Regions from separate parts of the Homo sapiens genome. Here all the other regions are linked to region 6. The links are contacts of gene promoters, found by promoter capture Hi-C in blood cells and fetal thymus (Javierre and others, 2016). All regions are on one chromosome and are shown on one strand. Each heading gives the region's core, a stretch centred on a gene start or on the middle of the fragment in contact. The rest is flanking DNA. Distances are from core to core; before and after follow the strand shown. Region 1 overlaps KCNJ1 (potassium inwardly rectifying channel subfamily J member 1). Region 2 has its middle 130 kb from the start of LINC02098. Region 3 has its middle 110 kb from the start of MIR6090. Region 4 has its middle 140 kb from the start of MIR6090. Region 5 overlaps FLI1 (Fli-1 proto-oncogene, ETS transcription factor). Region 6 holds the start of ETS1 (ETS proto-oncogene 1, transcription factor). Region 7 overlaps FLI1 (Fli-1 proto-oncogene, ETS transcription factor).

Region 1 (2,928 bases), core at 1-2,500, 250 kb before region 6:
GACAAAGGAAGGGAAATACCGAGTGGATTTCCATAACTTTAGCAAGACAGTGGAAGTGGAGACCCCTCACTGTGCCATGTGCCTTTATAATGAGAAAGATGTTAGAGCCAGGATGAAGAGAGGCTATGACAACCCCAACTTCATCTTGTCAGAAGTCAATGAAACAGATGACACCAAAATGTAACAGTGGCTTTTCAACGGGAGTAAAGCAAAGTCTCTAAAGCTCCTAGTACCTAGAAGCATTATGAAGCAGTCAACAATTTAGGGGTACGAAAGTAGGATGAGAGCCTTCAAAGTCTACCAGCACAAAGACCCCTGAGCCCCGCAATTGTGATCCCACAAGACATGCATCTCCACAAGGCTACTGTATTAGAACGTGCAATGCATTTATATGAAACTGGTGTATGGAAGACATAGGTGCTCTCTTGAAATCTTAAATATGATTATTTGAGCTCATATAAGGTGGATTGGAGCAGATAAAATTATCAAAAGTTTCATGAACAGGCCAAACAAAATATTTTTTAAAGTTTCCTTAAAGAAGTTATGAACTTTAGAAAGGATCAGGGGACAATAATAATCTCATTTTGATTCTACTGATAAGAATGACTCCACTTTTAATGTGGACTTTTACTCATGGAAAAATTGTCTCCTAATTTGGGGAGATGAACCAACCAATCAATGACAAGAAAACGCTTACACAAAGAACAATTTGAGGCTCTAAGCTTCTCATGTGGTACGTTTAGACAGAGGCTAAATCTGCACACTAGAATCTTGATGATACCTTCCTGCAAGACAGAATGCTTTAGTTAAAAGTGGTGATGATATTTCTTTCAATCTGTATTGGATGGCTTAAAGGGCTATAAATCTGTTTATAAAGAGCATTTCCTGCTCTTCGAAGACAGCAATGAGGAGTTGGAAGGTGCAAAGTCAGTAGAGAAGGGAATGTATCATTAATGCACCTGAGAAGAAACAGTTTCATGTGTTCCTCCACCTAGAGTTTGTACTGGAATGCTATTTCTAAAGAAGAAGTGGGAAAGAGAGAGGAATGGGATGGAGCCCCACAGTCAGAATGTTACTATGTCTTTCTTTCCCTGACAGCCCATCTTCCTAAAAGGGACCAGCTTATGGAAGGCTCGACCTTGAGGGGAAAGTTTTACTGTGAAAGTCTTCTTCAGATCCCCACCTGCATCATTCCGAATGTGTCCTGGAAAAAAACTGGTACTCAAAGCTGCTTAGGAATCAAAATGTTTTCAGTGTGTTGATTAATATAGTAAATTTCTGAAACTGTGCATGCACTTTGATTATTATTATTACTATGCATTAACTGAGTCAGGTTCCAGGTGAAAATCCTCTTGCAGAGAGGACCCTCTCCTGGAAGGGGCGGGAGGAGTGGAGAGGAAGCAGATAGGACACATTTGTTGTCTGGAGTCCTCAGGAGGAAATGACCCTGGCCACAGACACACCCCTTCCGGTACAGCTCCATCACGCCTCTCCAGTGTGAGTCTTGGCACATAAAACGGCAGCTGCCCACAGTTGTTGGGAGGGATGGCTTATGTTTTTCCATGCCTGGGCTGTATTTGTACAGATCCATGCACCACTCTGGTCCTTCTGACTAAGAACAGTGGGAAGTCTGATGGTTTTAGGGTTGCACACCTTGTCAGTGGCCATAACAGTGGCCATAGCTGGCCCATGTGGAACTCTCACTCTGTACCTGTGAGTGCTTTGGCACCACAATTTAATGTGCTGACAGGAAAAAGAAATCAGGTATCACAAGCTTGAGGGAGCTGGAATTCTCTGCTGGCCCACTGTCATGATGTAGCCCCTTCATAAACTGGAGGGAAACTGTGTTGACACTTGTTCCCATCAGCATGCACTCTTCCTGGTGTATTCTCCTGCTGGCTGGCAGCATGCATGTAGATGGCTGGAAGTGAGATGGTCATAAGCAATCCATTCCCTTTGATTGTTTAGGGAGGTGAACAACATACATCTTTCTGATTGGTATTTACTTCTGGGTTATTTGGTGGAGGCCCATCTGCTTCTAAATATCCCTTTGCTAGGATCAAGACACTCTGCACCTGGAGTCTCTTTTTTAATGGAAATTCCCATTGACCCTCTAGCAACCATTAACACAGGTACATCCAATTAAGCCCCTAGGAAAAGAGGCCTGGAACAGGTAACTTTTGATAGGTCTAAGGAGTGGCTGGAACCCCAAAGCGCATAACACTCCTGTGCATTTTAAGAAAGGGGGTAACAAGGGAATGGGTGCTCAAGTAGTAAAGAGAAATGAAAAATAGCCTGAGAAGGCCAAACTGCTTGTAGGTTAACACCACTGCTAAAGGCAGCCTTTTTATTACAATGCAGTGACATTTTTCCCGGTGGAATCTGACTACATCAGTACTGCTATTTGCTACAGATGCTGGGTTATTCTATTTGCTGATTTCAAAAGCATGTCAACTGTTCTAATTTCCTTCGTGAAAAACTGCATCCCATGATGCATTATTATATTCAAAATTTTCCTTGAGACTGATTCTCTTTGAATTGCCCAGTTCATCTCTGTTGCTATGGGGATTTTGACTAAGAGCGTTTGATCCTGGTTGAATCTTCCTGGACTTAGGTTGGCTCAAGCTCCAATATTTAAGAGTTAAGATTTGGGAGGTTGTCTTTAATGGAAAGCACTAAATGTTTAAAAATTATTTATTCCTTAAGAGAGAAAAGGTAGAAGGGAAAGATCCTTTTGTGTTGCCATGCCTTTTTAAGACATGGGCTGATAGGTGACTGTCCTTCTCTATCCATCACTAAGGGGATGTGCAACTGGACCTTCCAGAAGAACTCCCTGGGCGGATTGCAGAGACGGTTGAGGAAGTGTCTTCCTTGGGGATTTTTCATGAAACAGAATATGGGTCCTCAACAGGATGCTTCTGTGAATAG
Region 2 (2,972 bases), core at 2-2,501, 250 kb after region 6:
GCAAGGGCACTTCACGGTGACGCATTCTCAGGATGAGACAGCCAGGCCTCAGAGCAGCCTGCTGGGCCCATCTCCTCCAGAACATGTGTGGGGAGGCTGAGGAAAGAGAACTTGGGGCTGGGCTTGTCACCTGGGGCACAGAGGGCTCAGATGACGTGATCCTATTGTCTAAAGGACAGCAGTCTGTTGTTTTTGTTCTTTTTAGTAAAATAAATAAAGCCTCCCATTTCTATGATAATGCATGAGCCACCAGAGCATGGCTTGATGGTCCCACCTGGACTCAATGCCTGGGCTGTCATGGAGGGTTATGGAGCAAGTGGGTGACTAATTATTTGCACAGCTCTGGCCTAATGAATAGCTTTGGATAGAGAACTTCCTGGAGTCAGCTGGGGAGTACTCCACCCATGCAGCTTGATTACAGAAGCTATTTTGAAGTGCATTTTTGTTACTCCCAGAGGCGAAGGCCACTTGATGGGCCAGATTGCCCTCGTAAGCCAAGCATGGCTCATTCTCATTGCACCTGAACATTCGGCACGTCCTGCACACAGGAGAGGGTGTCTGAGTGCTGCCCTCAAAGTGTGGGCTTCCTGCACCTATCCTGTCTCCGGCTTCTCTTCCAACTTTTGTTATTTCTGGGGAGAATGACTTCAGCTTGGGTTGCAGGCGAGGAAAGATTTTGAAATGTTTCTGTGTTGAGGAGTAGGTCCTCTCTCTGTCTTTACCTTCCCGTGTGCAGAAACTGCAGAGGACATGTGTTGCCCTTCCGGTGGCCTGGGAAGCTACTGGTTTTCCTTTTAGGACACGAAGGGTAGACTAAAGCTATGTTTTCTGCGATGTTTTACTTTAGTCGTGCTCATGCACTGTGCCAAAGATACTGAAGTGTACTTCCTAAAGAGGAGAAATAAAAGTGCTGGGGGCGGGGAGTTTGATGGGTTGGTCGATAGGTGATCCGTGATTGAGCATTACAAAAATGAGGCCTGAGCTGCTGGTGCTTAAAGTTATTTCTAAATGCTTGCCGAGGCGCCTAACTTCGCTTTCTTCTCAGTGCAGATCTCCTTTCACTGAGGTCCTGTGCGGGGAGCTTGTTTCTTTGATATGGAAATGTGCACATTGATTCCTGCTGGAGGACCCAGGAGCCTCTGGGACCCCGCAGCTCAGGAGGCAGTTTTGGGTTGAAAGTTGGGGAGCGGAATTCATCTGGTCTCTGTTTCCACTTCCTTCCTCCACGCTGCTGTCTGAAGTTTGTTTCTCTTCTGGCTTTCTCTTTCCTATCTCAGATTCTTTCCAGTGCTTAGGGAAATCTCTTTCCACTTTTCCGAAAGCAAAATAAATGAAGCCACGATAGAGGCTGCCCTGCTCCTCAAAATACCTATGGGGGTAAGACGTAGAAATCCTAAAGCTGAAGTGTGATTTGGGAGATGGGTACGCTATGCCCTGCCCACGAATAATTCAGAGTAATAGGTAGATTCTGCCTATTTTCTGAGTGGCTTTTAGATTCACTAAAAGGTGACATTGGATGAGGTTTCAGGCAACGGAGCCAAGACAGGAAACTCAACCAAGATGATCACCAGGGACACGCCCCTGCATTTCCTCAGAGTAAGAGAGATCATACATCTGACTTGAGGCTTTTAAGCAAGGAGACTAAAGGTTGTTTGGCACAGTACAGTATTCATTTTAAGAGACTACAGACATAATCCAACTGTGAGATTCTAATCCTTTCTACGGCTTTTCCTTGGAAACAAACTGTAGGCAAGTCGTTATAGCCATGGTGCCCCTACGGTCAGCATGTTTTTCGATGCCTTCACAAAATATGAGACTAGAAAAAAGAATGACTGGGCCCAAAATGTAAAAATAAAGCTGTAAATAAAAATTAATACATATTTAACTTATTAATAATTTTGTCAGAGACTGTAGCAATTCAACACAGATTATTTTTCCCCCTATTTTACTGAGGTATGATCGACAAATAAAATTTGAGTATATTTATCATGTACAACATGATGTTCTGATAGATGTATACATTGTGAAATGATTACCACAAACAAGTTAACTGATCCATAACCTCATAGTTATCTTTTGTGTATGTGTGCAGTGAGAATAGTTAAGATCTACTGTTTAAAAATATTTCAAGGCCAGGTGTGGTGGCTCACGCCTGTAATCCCAGCACTTTGGGAGGCCGAGGCAGGCAGATCATGAGGTCAAGAGATCAAGACCATCCTGGCCAACATGGTGAAACCCCGTCTGTACTAAAAACACAAAAATTAGTTGGGCATGGTGGCGCGTGCCTGTAGTCCCAGCCTCTTGGGAGGCTGAGGCAGGAGAATCGCTTGAACCCGGGAGGCAGAGATTGCAGTGAGCCAAGATCATGCCACTGCACTCCAGCCTGGGAGATAGCAAGACTCTGTCTCAAAAAAAAAAAAAAAAATCAATTATATCATATAGTATTGTTATAGTCACCATGCTGTACATTAAGTCTCTAGAACCTATTCTCGTAACGGAGAGTTTGTACCCTTTGACCACATCTCTCCTTTTCTCTTTCCCCCAGCCCCTGACAACCACTATTCTAATTCTACTTTCTGTTTCTATGAATATGACTTTTTTAAAGTCCACATATAAGTAAGATCATACAGTATTTGTCTTTCTCTTATCATATAGAATTTGTCTGTGTCATTACACATATTGTTCTTAGCATAATGCCCTCAAGTTTTATTCATGTAGTTGCAAATGTCAGGATTTCGTTTTTATAGCCGAATAATATTCCTTTGTATACATATGCCACAATTTGTTTATACATTCATCCACCAAAGACCACTTGGGTTGTTCCCATGTCTTGGCTATTATGAATAATCCTGCAGTAAACTTAGAAGCACAGACATCTCTTTGAGATACTGATTTTGTTTCCTTTAGATATATACCTAGAAGAGGGATTGCTGGGTCATAGCGTAGTTCTATATTTAATTTTTTGAGAAACC
Region 3 (3,097 bases), core at 399-2,898, 180 kb after region 6:
ATTAATAGATAGACCTCCATCTTAGGAATAGGGAGATGTTGAATGAAGCCCCTAGCTTCCTGACAATAAAAAGTGTATAAAATATAAGTAGAAGTCTTAAGAACAAAAATGTAGCAAGGCACACTTGAGAGCTTTCTTAGTACTGATCCACACAGAAAAAAAGGTAAAGATGACCCTTGGTCCTTGGGCTTGTGTCTGCAAGGGTCTCCAGTTCAGAATATTTCTAAAAGGGAAATCTAGATGGTCAGTGGGCCAGATTTAGTGTTGTGTGCAAGGAGGGCCTTGCCTTAAAAACAGGAGTCTCTTTGCTTCTTGGGGTAACACTACCCCTCCTCCAACTTGTGAACTAAATACAGGACCTATTCTAGCATCAGGCCAGCTGTTTCAAAGTTGGTTAGTAGAAGAAAAGCTAGAAAAATATTAGGCTGGACTGAAAGGAAATCAGGCTGTGGTGTTTTTAAATTTGGGTTCAATTTCAGAGCTTTAGTATTGAACTCCTTTGGGCAATTTCTATCAGATATATCATTGCTGGACTATGCCTAGTGTCAGAAGAGATTTGTAAACATTCTGTGGGCTGAGCTGAAAAATTGCTGCAAGATTGTTTCAGTCAACCTTTCAAGGATAAATGATTTTTTTCATATTTCTTTTGGGATTCAAAATGCCATGCAAATGACCAATACTAGTCCCTTAATTGTTTGGGGTCAGATGAAATCTGGCAAGGCAGCAATGGGCTTTGGCTTTGCAAACTGATGATTGCACAACTTGAGGAATAGATAACATCTCTGCTCCTAAAGAATGGCTTTCTCAGCATATGGGAACCACAAAAGATTTGAGAAAATCTTGAAGCAAACTGGCTGGTATGAGCCAAATGCCTAGAAATAACACAATGAATCATGGAGAGCTCTCTTTGCTATAAGTAAGGGTGTATACAACAGTACCCATCAGCTAATTATAGCGTTGCTAATCTTTCTTCAACCTCTTCTCAGCCTTGCTCCAAATCTGAAACTTCTGGCCAGTTGCTGGGTCACAGAATAGTAGTTTCTCACCATTCTTTTTGTCTTTCCCTTCTAAATAGATTGAAAGAGACAGGCAGAATGAAGTCTGCAGTTAGTGTGACAGTATGAACTGCTCACATCTGTGTAAGGATATGGGGAGGACACTAGTCACTTGCTAACATGGTTGCTAAGAAATGGAATGGGGAGATGTGAATGAAAGGTTATGGGAGAAGGAAGAATGGCTGGGGTAAGACATGGTGAGAGGGGGCAAGGGCTACGGACAAGCTCAGTCTACTTTGGGGTTCTCGGTAAGGCACAAGATTACCTTTCCTGTCCTGTCCAGGTAGAGGAATTCTTCCCATGGAAATTTTTTTTCACTCTCTTTCTTCTCTCAATTCTTATTAATTATTCATAAATTTCTCAAGATCTGTTCCTTCTGATCCCTTATCTCTCTTCTTTATTTTTTCCGCCACTACCCAAGGCAAACACAAGGAGTATTTCGAGGCTGTTTAATGGACAAGGCAGTCAGAGTTGGGGTGTGGAGAGGATAAGGGACTTGGTGAGAAAATGGGGGACCCTCAGGGGCTTTCTTTTGTGGAGTGGAGGGCCCCAACTGCTCATTCTTTTCTTTTGTTTTTTTGCCCGTCTACATCAAACCTTGCTGATTATGCTCATATATTTGAGTGTCTGCTTATTGGGTAAGTGTGTTTTTTACCTTCCTTAACTTTCAAGGCACATGAACTTCTCTCTGCAGTGGAAAAAAATAATTATTCCTGTCAATTACCAGGCTGAGGTGTTCCTCAGGGCCCAGTCCATGACACATGCTTTTCCATATTAATGTATGGAAAATACTCCTGTAGATTTGAGCAGCTACCATTGCTTTCCCTAGCCCTTTGCTCAGAAGTAGGCACCAGTCCACTGGCTGTTGGGCAAAAGCCTGCTGAGAAATCCAATGCCTTGGCCAAAGATGCTTTGAAGAAATAGTAAGTGAGGCAGCTCTGACCTCTTCTTATAGAACTCCCTGATTCATAAAATCAAACAGCAAAGACTCCTAGAGACCACTGAGTCCAAGCCTCTTCATTTTATAGAAGAGAAACTGAGGTCCATAGAAGCCCATTTTTTTATAGAATGAGAAGGAAAGTGACTTGCCCAGGGCTCCTGCTTACAGTAGAGTTGGGACTGGCATTTACATCTCCTTATCCTTTACTTAGTCCTCTTCGTAATAAACAGCGAAACACTCAGGGGTCCTTCCTTCCTCTTTCCAAACCCTGGAGGAGCTGAGGGGGAGACATGGGGGCTTTACTCCTCGTGTTGTTTCAGACTCAGACTTCTCAGCTTCCACATTGAGAGACTATTTGCAATTGCTTCTCCTTGTTGCCCAAATTCCTGGCTGGCATTCCAGACTGACACCAGAGACTTCCTTCCCAGGGACATCCATCCTGGGCAGGTCAGCAGTTTGCATCTTCCCTGGGGCAGAAGTGGCAGAGTCTCAGAACTCTTGCTTCTTAAGACTCAGCTCAATCTCCACCTGACTCAGCAGAGGTTTCTGGAATCTCAGATGGGTCCTAACCAGAAGCAGCTAGGTTGCTTCTCTGTTTCTATAATGAGAAAACAAAAAAAAAAGCTGACTATGACCATTGAGAAAGAAAATGCACCCATGTAAACACAGCAATCTTTACCCTATAAATAACCCTAATTAAAATGAAAACACCCGAGTGCTCCCATCTTTTTTGATTTTTTCTTTCTGCTGGACACCATGGGAGGTCCTTGCAGCAGAGCTCTGGTGCTTGCCAACAATAACTAGGCTCTGAGAAGAAGCGTTTCTGTGCTTCTCTTGCCAGCTCAAGTCTAACTCTTTTCTGAGTCTTCCTTCTGGTTCTTCTCTTTCCCTTTCTGTCTTGTGAGGTGATTTTTAGAGCTCCCACATCTAATTCCATATTTCCTCCTGAAGTTCTAAGCATTGTCCGGTTGATTTACGAATGCAGTTCAGCAGGGCTTGATTCATCATGCAATTTGAATAGTGCTATGAGAGTCTCCCTTGGAGGGAGGAGCTGTGGCTATGTTAGTCTCATTTTCAAAATGGACCTGATAATATTAGACAT
Region 4 (3,289 bases), core at 253-2,752, 210 kb after region 6:
GTAATCCTAATGCTTTGAGAGGCCTAGGTGGGAGGGCTCTTGAGGTCAGGAGTTCAAGACCAACTTGGCCTACATAGTGAGATCTCATCTCTATGAAAAAATTAAGAATAATAAATAAAAATAAAAAATTAGCAGGGTGTGGTGGCACATACGTGTAGTCCTACCTACTTGGGAGGGTAAGGCAGGAGGATCTCTTGAGCCCAGGAGGTTGAGGCTGCAGTGAGCTGTGAGCACACCACTGCACTCCAGTCTGGGCAACAGAGAGAGAACCTTTCTCTAAAACAAATAAAAAACAACAACAAAACCTTATTAATTTAACTATCTAAAAGAAACAAGTAAATTATAATGATATCTGTATGTCTCACACAATGAATGAAAAAATGCCATAGTTAAACATATGGTCAATTCACAGAATACCAAGAAAAAAGAGAAGATTCTAAAAGCCCACTGAAAAAGAAAGAGACACACAGAGAGAGAGGTGGTGGTGGGGAACAGGAGAAAAGACATTGGAGCATTAGCATTATATTTTTTAGGAAAAATGAGTTTTCAACCTAGAATTCTATACCCAACTACACTATCACTAAATTGTTATGGTAAAATAAGGACTTTTTTTTTTTCCTTATAAGGACTCAGAAAATTCACTTTATACACTTATTTTAGAAAGCTTCCTGAAGAAATGCCTATGTTAGATAAAATGACTCAATGCAACAGTAGAGAGCTATAACTCAACTGGTTTACACAGAAAGACAGCGATTATCTCAAATAACAAGAAGTCTAGAATGGACAGCTATAATGTTGACTCAATTATGTTACCAACATTTTAAGTTCTTCCTGCTTTGCTTTTCTGTTGTTCTTGGTGAGTTGCATCATTCTTGAGATAGCTCTCTTTGCATTGGAGGATTACTTGTATAACCAGATATCATGTACAGATAAGAAAATGACCAGAGGAATAAAGGACATTCTCTTTTTGTGAATTTTTTAAATCAAAGACTTCACCAGAGGTTCCATGACAAAATTTCCCTTTCATTGTCTAAAATTGACAATATGTCCACTTTTCAACCCATCAGTAGGAAGGGAAACGTTGACACAATTGACTTGGTGAAGTTCAAGATCATTAACATAGGGTGGTATACCAGAATGAAAAGTAGGATATGTTAGAAAGAAAGAGGGATGTGTGTTTGCTGCAATGCTGCAACAAACCAGGGATCAAACCAACAAAGAGGATATAGGATCTAGATATGGTGGAACTGACCCAGGAAAAGAATAACAATTCCCAGGAAGATGAATGCACATGGCCTGAAGGCACAGCTGTCGATTAGAGCAGAAGGACAAAGGGGCCTAGGCAGGAGAATTGACGTAAAAAGAGAGTGGGAAGGATTTTTGATATAAAATTCTAAAGTGTGATAAAGGCAAAATTTTAAAAAACTGGCATCTAGAAATCTCAGAAAAAGGATAGAGCATTATAAGAAAGAACTGTAATCATGAAAACACTACGTTACTCTGCTTTGTGCAATACTGACACAGTCAAAATAACAGGGATAGGGTTAGTTGACTTTCAACTTCTATAATCAGCTCAGTGATGCAAGCTGGCTATGGAATAAAATGTACCTTCCCTCCTCTGTGACAATATAAAAGAAGTGCGCATGTGAGAAATTGGGAGGTAGCAGGTGGTGCGGTGGGGAGAGCTGAGAGTAGAAAGAAAAGACAGGGATGCTAAAAGATGTTGCCTTTAGTTGGTAAAACAAGAAACAAAAGTATGATAATAAGTAATTACAAAAGATTAAAGAATAAATGACATAATTTTTATTTACTACGAGATTGGGTTTAGGGTGAGTTTGTGTGAACTAAATCTTAATCTATCATAGTGGGGATTCAAAAGATAATGTATAAAATGAATAAATTAAAAGTGCAGGCAAAAACATGCATTGTCTAGAAAGATGGCACTAACTCCCAGAAAAATAGCCCAAAGAGTTAAAAGAGTTTTCTCTGGGGAGGGGAAGGGGAAGAGGGAAGGGACAGAGGCCTTTCATGTATAAGCCCTTTTTATTATTCTTTATTTCAACCATGTGCACACATATTATTTGATAATTGAAAATATATTGTAAAAAATAATTTATTTTTACTTTCTATCCTCATAATGCAAACGTATTTTATATTATTAATTTTCCACTTACAGCTTTAACAAAAACATTTTCCTTGACAGTACATGGCCTTTATGATGATTCATTTATATGATGATGTAATATTTTGTATGGTTTCTCTGGCAGTCCTGATCCATTCATATTCCTTCTCTCAGTTTTCCTGTGTCTATGAATACCTGAAAGAAGTGGTTGAAGCTTGGGGGAGCAGTCTATGGCCAAAGAAGGACATTGTTTTTCTCTTTTTTTTCTCTGAAAATAGCTAAATATTGACCTGGGCCTCATTAGCACTGTGCATTAACCAAGTTCAAAGCACCAGGCAGAGCTGTGTAGAGGTCTCGCTTACTGCAGCAGCCCCTGGGTGGTGCACACACACCCTGAGACCTACAAGGTTAGAGACAGTTGCATCCCAGCCTGGACAGCATCAACCCAAGGCTGCCCTTTGCACTGACACTGCTCCCAAGTTCATTTGAAATGGGGACTGCCAGAAAGACAAGTCTTCATTTGCAAAGCAAGAGCATGGTTTTAATTATCCTTTAGATCCATAAAAAAGCAAGGGGGGTGGGGATAGATTTATGGCTTTAAATTCTCTTCTTTGCCATTTATAAAACAGTATTTATCAGGTGTGGGGCACATGGCAGCTCTGGGGAGTGCCAGACGGGGATCAAAAGCAAAGCATAAAAACCTTCCCCTTTCAACATACCTAATCTCTTCCTTCTATCTATAAATGGCCACATTTACCTCCTGGCTCAGAAAAGTGATTCATTCTGGCACTTTGCTGTTTGAGGTATCAAGAGTGAGTAAGAGTGTGCAGGGTCTGTACTAACTGCCCTTTGATGTTTCCTTCAGAAGAACAGAAAGATGGCCAACAGCCCCTGGTGGGTGTTGGCACTGCCATTGCCTTGGAGAGTGTCCCTTTCACAGGGAGACATTTGCATCCTTCTACTAGAGCATCATATAGGAACACAGCTGGAGAAATAGTAATAAATCATTCATCTTTTCAGTGCTGTTTAGTTATCTCCTATATACCCCCGACACTGCCAGGTCATAGTAGATTCCAATGAAGTGTAAGATATGATACCTTACTTCAGAAAGCATCAATGTTTGTTGACAAGAAAATCTTGTACGTAGTAGAGTCGTAGATTATTAAA
Region 5 (2,889 bases), core at 290-2,789, 190 kb before region 6:
GACCTCTCCAAAGCTTGCATGAAATGTATATTTCATGGCAACCTAGGAAAAGGATTTTGCCCTAAAGACTGTTCTTGGTTCAAGTTTCACTCCTAGAAGGAGAGGCTGCCTTCCCCAAGGAGGGGCTGGTTGGGGGCATCTGGCCTCTCTCCCAAGGGACCTAGATTCCCTCCTCTTCTCCGATTTCTACTTCATTAGTTCCCCAGGCTCTGTTTTCTTAAGGAACTTGTTCTGATGCAGGCAGGTCCTCCTGGAGTCTGGCCTCCCTCTCTGTGGCTTTGGACTGCTTTCTCCTGCCTTGAGGCTCTTTCTGGCCTGACCCTGCCACAGGCCTGTGCTGCTGAGCTCCCCCACCTTCCCGATGCCAGCACATCAGGGTAAACAGGCCATGATGAAGGTGGTGGTGGGGACGCAGTGCTCCCTGAACATGCACGGTGTGCCAGACGCTTTCCATCTATTTTCTCACTTAATCCTTGCATAAGCCATACAGAGCCAGCATTCCCTTATTCCTTTTTACAGATGAAAGGAGCAACACTCAGCGAAGTCATATCATTTTCCCAGGATCACACAGCCAGAGAGTGCAGAAGGCAGGAGCCCCATCGTGGTCTATTCACAAAACCTGTCCTCAATCTGGCAGATCCCACTGCCTCCAGGCTAAATCGTAGAAATAGGCAAAACTCACCTATGGGGCTGGGAAGCAGGGTGGTGGTTAGTTTTGTGGAGGAAGCGGTTGTGGGGTGGAGAGAGGGTACAGGGGGCTGAAATTCTACTCCTTGGCCCGGGAGGTGCTTATGGGAGTGGGTGGATTCACGTCACGATAATGTCTCACGTAGCGCACTTCATGATTTTTGCACTTCTCTCTGTGTTGTACTTCAGTTCAAACTGAAGTATAAGATTTGCCTACTTGGTTATTTGTAAGTTTCTGTATATGTGTTTGTATGTATATATTTGTATATGGGTGTGTATGCATATACATATATCTATTTATTGAGGGCATTTTTGCTCTAAAAAGCATAAAGTAGCTCCTGCTGAGAATAGAATGGCCTTCCCAAAGTGCAAGCATGGGGAAAAGATCATTTTCCATTCCATGTTTGAATCCATGTGCTGCTAGAGACAGTACCTGGATCTGAAAGGAGAGGGGAGTGAGCAGTGTGAGGCTTTGCAGGTGTGGGGTAGAACCCCAACAATCACGGTTTCTGCTGCTTCACATTCCCTCAACCTAACCTGCTTTTCATCGGGGACACCTGGGCCAGGGGGCGCAAGCGTCCCAGTGCCAAAGCCTTTGTCTCCTGCCTCGCTGTGACCATAGAATTCACCAGTGCCCCCTCACAGCCAGCCTATTGAATCCAGGTCTCTCTTTTCTCTGGGCTGCACTGCTATATCAACAGCTCTGGCTGAGTGTGCAGGAGCGGGAGGGTGCAAGGCTCTGGGATCTTTAAACAACAATCCTGGCTGACTACTGGGTCCAGGGAAACCTGGCCTTTTGTTCAGCTGGCATTCTGTTCTCCTTCACCAGTCAAACCCAGGCCTGGAAGTGATAAGATTGCACCAGCTTAATTGCCCAGACTCAAAACCTCTGCCCGACCATCTGAGGCTGCAGGTGGAAAGACCAGAAAATGCAAAATGTGTTTTCCATTAAAGTTTAAATTAAAAATGGGAATGAAGATAGACACCCTTTCCGTGGTCTCCCGGTCGCGCAGTTTCATTCTTTTGAGCAGCCACTGTTTGAAGACGCAGTTTCTTAGTGTTTTTTTTTCCAGGTCAGACCCAGATTGACATACAAAACGAACTTGTTTGTAAAACTTAAAAAAGGCTCTTTTTCTTTCTGCCTCCCCACCTCCCCCGGGGCCTCGGGGCTCCCAGCCTTGCGCAAACTCCCCCCAGCGGCCCTGAGCCTGAACTGCCAGCCCGGCGCCCTCCGTTTCTTCGAGGTCCTTCCCCGCCTTGGCCTGAGAAGGGACAAATCTCGTTCCCGCAGCAGCTGCTGCGAAGGCTCCTCTGCCACACGGGGTGTGTCCGGGAGAGATACTGGTGGGGCCGACAGTCAGGCCCAGAGAAGGACAAAGTTAGCGTGGTGATAGGTTTGGCTTAATCGGCCTCCTTCCAGGAGGCCACAGGAAAGTTTTTGGAAAGCATTTATCTCTTGGTACAAATGACAACAGAAAATGCTGTGGGGGAAGTGGCCGGGCTGCCCACGTGGAAGGCCGGGAGTGAGGCTGCCTTGCCTGTGTGGCGCAGGCTGGCTTGCTGTCTCCAGGGCCGGGGGAACGTCGGCAACGCGAGGCCAGGGACTGGGACTCCAGAGGCCCTAGTCTGAGATGCCAGGTGCTCTCAATCGGCTGGATGCCTTTGAACCAATTTCTGAAGCTGTCTGGGCCTCAGTGGGTTCAGCTTCAAAATGGGTACTGTAGATAGTTGTCCACAAGGGGGCAACCTTTTTTCCTCTGAAGACAGAGCCTCGGTCTATCGCCCAGGCCAGAGTGCGGTGGTGCGATCTCAGCTCACTGCAGCCTCCCCCTCCCGCATTCAAGCGACTCTCCTGCCTCAGCCTCCCAAGTAGCTAGGATTACAGGCGCCCACCACCACACCTGGCTCATTTTTGTATGTTTAGTAGAGACGGGGTTTCACCACGTTGGCCAGGCTGGTCTCCAACTTCTGGCCTCAGGTGATCCACCCGCCTTGGCCTCCCAAAGTGCTGGGATTGACAGGTGTAAACCCTGGAGTTTCCCAGGACTCATGGGAATTACCCCCAAGAACCGTGGCCACCCCAGCCATCACAGTCCTCCTTGCATTTCCTGTGGTGGTGGGGGGGAGGGGTGGGCGCCTGTGTGGCGTGTGACACAGCTCCTCTGGCACAGCTGACACGCCCAGGTGTGAAGAACAAGCACC
Region 6 (3,320 bases), core at 174-2,673:
GTATAATTGACCGTGGGCTCTTTAAATGGGGCAGTGTGCTGAAATTGACTGGGTTACAGGGGCAGGCTGAAGCTTCCCTAGCTCTCTTCATAGACTTCTTTTGTAGCATGTATTACATTTTTGGGGGGAGATCGTTGATTTATGTGTCTGTCTCCTCACTACAATGCAAACTTGCTATCTTTCTAGTGCCTAGAACAGTGCCTGGCACAGGCAATTTATTAAACTAAAGTGAACCAATAGCATTACCTCTTCCTTACTTCCAAGTTAATGTGCAAAGGCAGAAGATGAGCAGTAAAATCTTGCTTTACTTACAATGTCATCTTAACTGCATTGCCAGCTTTATACAATGAAGGCTGATGATGATATGGCTCCAAATGACAGTTATTAGATTTTCAAGGATTTTCTAAGTTTGTATCTTTATTAAAAAGAGAAAGAAGCCAACTATGACAAATCTTAACTCCCACCTCCTACTCAAAGAAGATGGAATCTTTTAGGATAAAAGTCTTAGATTAAGCAGCCAAATACTGACTTCTCAAAAAAAATTGTAATAACTCCATTCATAGAAATGAGATTATGCTGTAACATTCTTACCATAGTCCTGAATATGTGAATAAAAGATGCTGTGTATTTTCACTTAGGACAGATGTAAGATTTTCATATTGTTTACATTTTCCCTAAATGAGAAATGTATGAACACTTCTGCCCTTTTATTCCTGCACCACGGACCATGAGTCAGGGCTGCTAAAAGTATCCTTATTTTAGAGATTGCCTAAAACCAGACTTATATGAAAAGGGGATTTTTAGCTTTACTTTTCAGAAATCCCAAGTCCATATCCAGTCAGCTCTCTTCCACAAAATTATTTTCTTTTCTTTAGAAAATATCACATTTCATATCAAGTTATTAGAGAGAAACGGGAAGCCTGAGCAGGTGACTGGGTGGTGGACGTCCTGTGTTTCTAAAGCAATCCCTTTCCCTCACCTGAGACCTTGCCTAGGTTAATGGGGGCTCCATTGAGAAAGTCAAGGAACATGAAGCATGAATATTTACATATTCAGCAGAGAGTAAATGCATCAGCAAATGATGAGGTGAGATACAGTGTTATCCCACTGAACTAGTTCCCTTTTGCTCATCTCCCTCCCTGTTACTCTCCAAGGCTGAGTTATATTCAGCTGAAGCACAATTTGAAGAATACGAAATAATGTGTGATTTGGTGCCACCACTGTCAATCAACAGTGCTTTCCACCTAGACTGCTGTGCCTGTGCCAGTGGCTGCTGTCCTGGTGCCAGGGGCAAGAGGAAGACTGCCTTTTTTCCAGCTTTCCCTGGCTTGACCACACCCCCCAATTTAAGGAGGCAGCTCTATTAGAAACATTATGGTCTTTGCATCCTCTTAAGCTACGGAGCAGAGGATTCCCGCAGGTAGTTGGAAAGAGACCACAGACTTTGAGGGAAGCTCACTCAGGATCTGCTCTCCGGCAAAGTAGTAAGTGAGGTGTGTGTCAGTTTCTGCCTAAAACTTTTCAGTCCATTTTCCTTTTCCTGCTTTAAAAAAATTTCTGTGGAATTAAAGAGTAAGTCGGTAGGGAGATTCAGGATACAAGTGAGTTTTCTCTTTCTCTTTTCACGTCTTTCTATATTCCCATTTAATTGTTTAACAATTTTCAAAAATACTTCCTAACCTCGTCAGAATAGTCTGAAAGCAAGACTATGTTTTTAAAAATGTTCCCTGCTTCACAAAAGTAAAACCATGCACGTTTTAGATACCCGTAGATTACTTGTCAGAAACCCTGATTTTTTTTTTTTTTTTTTGCAAATTGGAGCACTTCCAAAGAAATAAAGCTGTAGTTAAATATATAAATTTCTTTTTATTCTCTTTCACTCCTAGTAAATCTATTGTTTTACTTTTTTCTCCTGCTAGTAGTTTAATGAATTGCTTTTAATAGAGAGGAAATTGCTACAGGTTTGAATCTTGCTAGCCAAACTAGCCTGTTTGGTGTTTTTCTCTGTCTTGGGACTGACCTGCAGTTGTCCAAAGATCTACAAGTTCCTAAGTCTGTTGTTGAGACATGGTGTGGGTGTGGGCCGCGGTTGTCTCAGAGTTAGGGAGGTATTTCTTGTCCCCACGGTAGAGCTGGACTCAGTGGCAGGAGATGTCGATGGCAATTCCTCTGCATCCGGTGATTTTATCTGGCCGTGACACTTTGTATGTGACTCCTCACCCACCGTTAAAGGTCTCTGTTACCAACTTTTAAAGTAGTATTTTCTTCAGGCAAACTTAAAAGGGTGCTGGGTCACTGAAATCAATGCATTCTATTGCAGGATTTCTTTATCACCTTTTGGGTAAGTTTTTGTTTTTAATCTCAAGTCCATTTTCCTTCTTACTTTAGACCACTGCCATGCAACTGAGAAAAAAGTATTTGTTAAACAGCAGGAAATACCAATTCTAAAATGATAACTCCATCAGCTCCATTTGATTTGTAAAATTACTGATACTATAACTCTTTCATCAGTTGTGGTTTTGGGTTTGGTGGCCTATTTTTATCCAAAGAGAAAACGCTTTTTCTTCAGGGGCCGTGGGCTGTGCACAAGGGCTGCAGGGTGGCCACTGCTGCTGTTGAGAGTCTTGCTCACCTGTTGTTCCTGAATGGAGGGAAGGGAGAGCTAATGGGTTAATGTCTGCAAAGTGCTTTGAAGATGAAAAGGTCTTTTCATGTGTTCAGTAGTGCAGTTATTAATATTAATATTTGAAGAAGCATGCTGCTTCTAATTGTAAATCAACTACTTCCATCCTTGCCAACTCAATAGTGAAATAACAAACAGTTCAGGCATCCATGCAGCCTCTTCCGTCCTGGTTCCGCTGCTGAGGATGTGGGAAGCCAAGCCGAGAGCCTAATTATGGAGGGGGCATCTTTGCCCGGCAGGCTCCTTACACGGAGGTGCTAGTTGCTGGCTGTGAAAGGATGTCCTGAGGCAGAGCCTGGGGGAAGCTGGTAGAGGGGTGGGATCCTTTGGCATCTGGCAGTCTGTGGCCAGAGCACCGACTTGGGCCAGTGGCCGGTCCCGGACGATAATGGAGTTCAAAGGCAAGTGGGGTCAGAACTTGAACCAGCGCTGGGTCGGAGAAGGGAAAGTGGCTGTGCACTTGGATTATGTCAGTGATTAGCTTTGTAACAGAGAACAGGGATTGAACGTGTCTGTGCCTTCTTCCCTTCATCTCTAAAAGGTGAGCAATCATTTGCGCCCCGCCTGGTTTACAAATATGAGAGAATAGAAGTAAACAGCATAGGGCTATGAAAAATCAGAGTGCCAGTGAGGTCAA
Region 7 (3,378 bases), core at 441-2,940, 210 kb before region 6:
ACCACAATCCACCTATTTATGTATGAGGCATAGGCTAAAAGCTTGTTCCCACAGGGAAGTCAAGGCCTGAATGCTGCTCGGTGAAGTGGTGTGCATTTTATGTGTTTTTAACAATGTCATTGTTGAAGTGAGGGTTCATATTTTTTTCCTACTAAAAGTCACTCAAGAAGAATTTAGCAGTGTGGTCATCTCTAGTCCCCAACATACACACAGAGATATGTCTATAACCTGAATGCAGAAGCCTGAACCAGGGAGCTGACCCAGTGGCTCACATCCCCACACAAACCCCCTTGCAGAGCCCAACACCTGGCTGCATGAGAGCTCCTGCCCCGACTCTCCGTCAGCGCATGGAGTGGGGCTCAGGCAGGGTGTGCCTGCTATGAGAAGAAGCCTGAGCGTGCATGGAGGCCCTCTCGAATGTGGTGCCTGGAGTCTGCCTCCTGAGAACTGACAAACTTGAGGTGGCAGCCAAAGGCCCAGTGTGTAAAAATGTGGCCGTCGGCACCAGTGTACCAGTTGATGATCTTGGTCTGTTTCTGTGGTGGCAGATGGCTTAATCAGCAGACAATCACACCCTGGTTCTGACAAACTAACTTTTCACTGTCGTGAAGGCTGACACCTTGGCTTTACAGAGTACCAAGATAACAGATCTTATTATTGTGATTCCTTTTCAGAAGAGTGACCCAAAGAGCTTTGCCTGGAGTTTCTGGTTTCAGGCAGTCCTGAGATCAACTCTTGCCAAAGCAAAGAGGCCGGAGCCTCAGTCTGGAGAATGAAGACATTGCCAGCCATTGTGGATAATTCAGCCTCACATATATGATGTCCTTAACAGTATCACCATTATGTGATGCTTAGTGGGGCTGAATTTGACACTAAATGGCCTCTTAGATTCCAGGAGAGCCTCCTGAGGTAGAGAAATATGAGCATGGAGATTTTTTTCCGCAAAGTCTCTGTTGGAAGGCGAAAGCTGTTTCTGGACATGACCCTCTCATAGACATACCAATGTTAACTTAGCTTCTGTGTGAAGCTTTTAACCTGGTCCTAGAAATATGGCCAAACATCTTTGGGAAGATATTTGCTTCTGCTCTGATGCCTCTGCTGTCTGAAAGCCCAAACGTCCCTGCCGGCATGCAGCGCTCCACCTTGTGACCTGACCAGAGGCCAGCAACACAGCGACATCAGCCCACAAAAGCCTCTCTCTTCATCCTCTGTGTCATAAAACCTTGCTCTCAATGACTGGGTGGAAAAAGATGAATTTTCCCTGAAACTTCTCATTGAATTTCTGGTTGCTGCTAAGAAGGCTGGCAGCACCTAACCCTGTTTATCCTTGGAAAGCCTGGCTTCTGAATGCAGACCTTTCAGCCGAGCAATGGGCAAGGCTGCTCATGCTCCCAGCAGAGCAGGGGGATTTGGTAGCCAGATCCAGACCTCCTTTCTTGAAAGAGTGAGGATGCACAGGAGAAATGCTCAAATCAATGGCAGACCTGAGACCCAAAGCCCTCAACTTCCCAAGAGAGCCAAGCCCACGAGGAGGAAGATTCACTCCCAGACTCCGACAGGGAAGAAACTGCAGGTGAGCGGCGGTCTTTGTTGTTGGGCTGTCCGACAGGTTATGACGTGTACTGGTAGAGGGCTGGACTAGGAGATCCTCTAAAACCCCATCTCCATCAGAGGTCCTGTGCTTCTAATAGGTCCAGTCTTTGGGGAGGAGCAGCCTCTCCCAGCCACCAACCTGCAGAAGCTGCTCTCCTCTAAGCGTTCCTTCATCCTGCTCTCCACCTGTGAGAACTGCTGCACTGCCCGAACCTTCCCAACCCACAGCTCAGGACCAGCTTCTCATCTGCTGCAGTCTTTGCTCGAGTCCGCGCCCTCAGCCCCACCCTGAGGCAAAGTAGATGCAGGGCTTAGGATGTCATCACGAAGGTATCCTTTCTCTCTGGTGGGCCTGGGGATTATTTTGGCAGTTAGGAGATAGGACTTCGAATCAGTTAACCCGGGATTCAAATCCCAGCTCCGCCATTGGCCTTGTGGAGTGACCTTGGTCATGTTGCTCAGCTGCTTTGAACCTCCAGTTCTGCTTCTCTGAAAAGCATTAATAACAGGTGCTTTCTACGGTTGCTATGAGGATTAAATAAGCATGTGATAAATGGTGATTTTAAAAATACACACCATATACATGGAGTCTATTCCATCCTGCTTGCCCCTCTACCATGCTTATCTTGGTGAGATGAGATTACCAAGCCCATTGAGGAAGGCCTTGAAAAGGAAGAGAAGCCTGAGGGCTATAAAGGATGAAGGACAGTTTTATTCCTGTGCTCCTGGAACAGTGATTCCCAAATTTAAATAAAGCTTGGCTCTCAGGCTGGGTGTGGTGGCTCAGGGCTGTAATCCCAGCACTTTGGGAGGCCAAGGTGGGAGGAACACTTGAGGCCAGGAGTTTAAGGCTGCAGTGAGCTATGATTACACTATTGTACTCCAGCCTGGGTGACAAAGTGAGATCCTGTCTCCAAAGCAAAATAATAATAATAATAATAATAATAATAATAATATAATAAAATAAATCGTGGCTTTCTTTTAAAAGAAGAGGTGGATTATTATCCTGGACCCTGGTTTGAGAAACCCCACCCCAGAAGACAGAGAGGGCTGATGGCTACAGGTGGTCTGCCTGGCTGTTAGGCCCAGGCATTACCCAGCATCCTCCTTCCTCCCCCACTGTCAGGTGCCAGAGTCACTGGCCACCTGGCCTTGAAGCTCAGGACCAAGTCCTCACTACATCCCACCATTCTAGAGGGGCTATTAAACCTTCACTTCAGCGGCGTCTTACATCCCAAAGAGCAACAGAGGAGCTTGGCATCCACTGAGACCTTGGAAGGAGGAAAATATCCAGGGAACGCTTTCCCCAAACTTGGAACTCACAGGGAAAAAACATCCTGGATCAGGTTTCCTTTGCTCAAGGATCTTGTCCTGGAATCCAACAGCCCCTCTGCCTCGGAGCTGACCCTGCTGTGTGGAGCATAATGGAGGTACTGTTGAAGATATTAGATGGGCAAAGGGAAAAAAAGACCTACGAGGAAAAGGCTTGGAAGAAATAGCTGACTTTTAAATATGAAAAGCGTGGAGAGTGAAGTGGCACATTCTCTGGGCACAGCCTTGCCATGGCCACGTGAGGCTCCCTGCTGAACCTGGGACCTTCTTCTATTTCATTTCTCCCACAGGCTCTGTGTCTAAGTGACACAGATGTCTAAATGACCTATTTATTTTGATAAGGCCTCAAAGTGGGATTTTTGAGCCAGCCTCATGTGGAATAGCAATTCATACTGACTAGATTAACTGGGTGTTTGCCAAAACTTCCTTCCATATTGGGTCATGTAGACGCAA

Evidence for each region. Contacts are between HindIII fragments. The CHiCAGO score rates a contact against its expected background, and 5 or more counts as called.
Region 1: a contact is called between a fragment that was not itself captured here and the fragment with the promoter of ETS1 in region 6, in 9 of 17 cell types (total B cells, activated CD4 T cells, naive CD8 T cells and 6 more). The highest score is 13.8, in total B cells.
Region 2: a fragment that was not itself captured here is called in contact with the fragment with the promoter of ETS1 in region 6 in 14 of 17 cell types (activated CD4 T cells, total B cells, naive B cells and 11 more); the score reaches 25.7 in activated CD4 T cells.
Region 3: a contact is called between a fragment that was not itself captured here and the fragment with the promoter of ETS1 in region 6, in 10 of 17 cell types (total B cells, activated CD4 T cells, total CD8 T cells and 7 more). The highest score is 15.9, in total B cells.
Region 4: a contact is called between a fragment that was not itself captured here and the fragment with the promoter of ETS1 in region 6, in 9 of 17 cell types (activated CD4 T cells, total B cells, total CD8 T cells and 6 more). The highest score is 16.1, in activated CD4 T cells.
Region 5: a contact is called between a fragment that was not itself captured here and the fragment with the promoter of ETS1 in region 6, in 9 of 17 cell types (activated CD4 T cells, neutrophils, naive CD8 T cells and 6 more). The highest score is 9.7, in activated CD4 T cells.
Region 7: a contact is called between a fragment that was not itself captured here and the fragment with the promoter of ETS1 in region 6, in 9 of 17 cell types (total CD8 T cells, naive CD8 T cells, neutrophils and 6 more). The highest score is 8.6, in total CD8 T cells.

The regions. Positions count from the first base shown.
Region 1 is chr11:128,836,381-128,839,308 of GRCh38, reverse strand. It overlaps KCNJ1 (potassium inwardly rectifying channel subfamily J member 1), which reads left to right. Exons shown (of 3, transcript NM_153766.3): 3 at 1-1,289. The coding sequence ends at 184. Among named protein-coding and RNA genes, the nearest start is that of KCNJ1, 29 kb to the left of the region's middle. The HindIII fragment of the contact is 1,052 bases long and covers 725-1,776 here.
Region 2 is chr11:128,340,094-128,343,065 of GRCh38, reverse strand. No RefSeq gene overlaps it. Among named protein-coding and RNA genes, the nearest start is that of LINC02098, 130 kb to the right of the region's middle. The HindIII fragment of the contact is 4,157 bases long and covers 1-2,972 here.
Region 3 is chr11:128,405,924-128,409,020 of GRCh38, reverse strand. No RefSeq gene overlaps it. Among named protein-coding and RNA genes, the nearest start is that of MIR6090, 110 kb to the left of the region's middle. The HindIII fragment of the contact is 3,668 bases long and covers 1-3,097 here.
Region 4 is chr11:128,379,370-128,382,658 of GRCh38, reverse strand. No RefSeq gene overlaps it. Among named protein-coding and RNA genes, the nearest start is that of MIR6090, 140 kb to the left of the region's middle. The HindIII fragment of the contact is 1,672 bases long and covers 667-2,338 here.
Region 5 is chr11:128,776,209-128,779,097 of GRCh38, reverse strand. The region is part of intron 4 of FLI1 (Fli-1 proto-oncogene, ETS transcription factor); the gene reads right to left. Among named protein-coding and RNA genes, the nearest start is that of SENCR, 82 kb to the right of the region's middle. RefSeq lists an enhancer at 1,765-2,370. The HindIII fragment of the contact is 3,048 bases long and covers 16-2,889 here.
Region 6 is chr11:128,585,661-128,588,980 of GRCh38, reverse strand. ETS1 (ETS proto-oncogene 1, transcription factor) reads left to right here and starts at 1,423. Exons shown (of 10, transcript NM_001143820.2): 1 at 1,423-1,493. It overlaps LOC105369565 (a long non-coding RNA gene), which reads right to left. Exons shown (of 5, transcript XR_948163.3): 4 at 2,021-2,641. RefSeq lists a silencer at 1,264-1,470. The HindIII fragment of the contact is 9,036 bases long and covers 75-3,320 here.
Region 7 is chr11:128,798,192-128,801,569 of GRCh38, reverse strand. The region is part of intron 5 of FLI1 (Fli-1 proto-oncogene, ETS transcription factor); the gene reads right to left. Among named protein-coding and RNA genes, the nearest start is that of KCNJ1, 67 kb to the left of the region's middle. The HindIII fragment of the contact is 1,322 bases long and covers 1,030-2,351 here.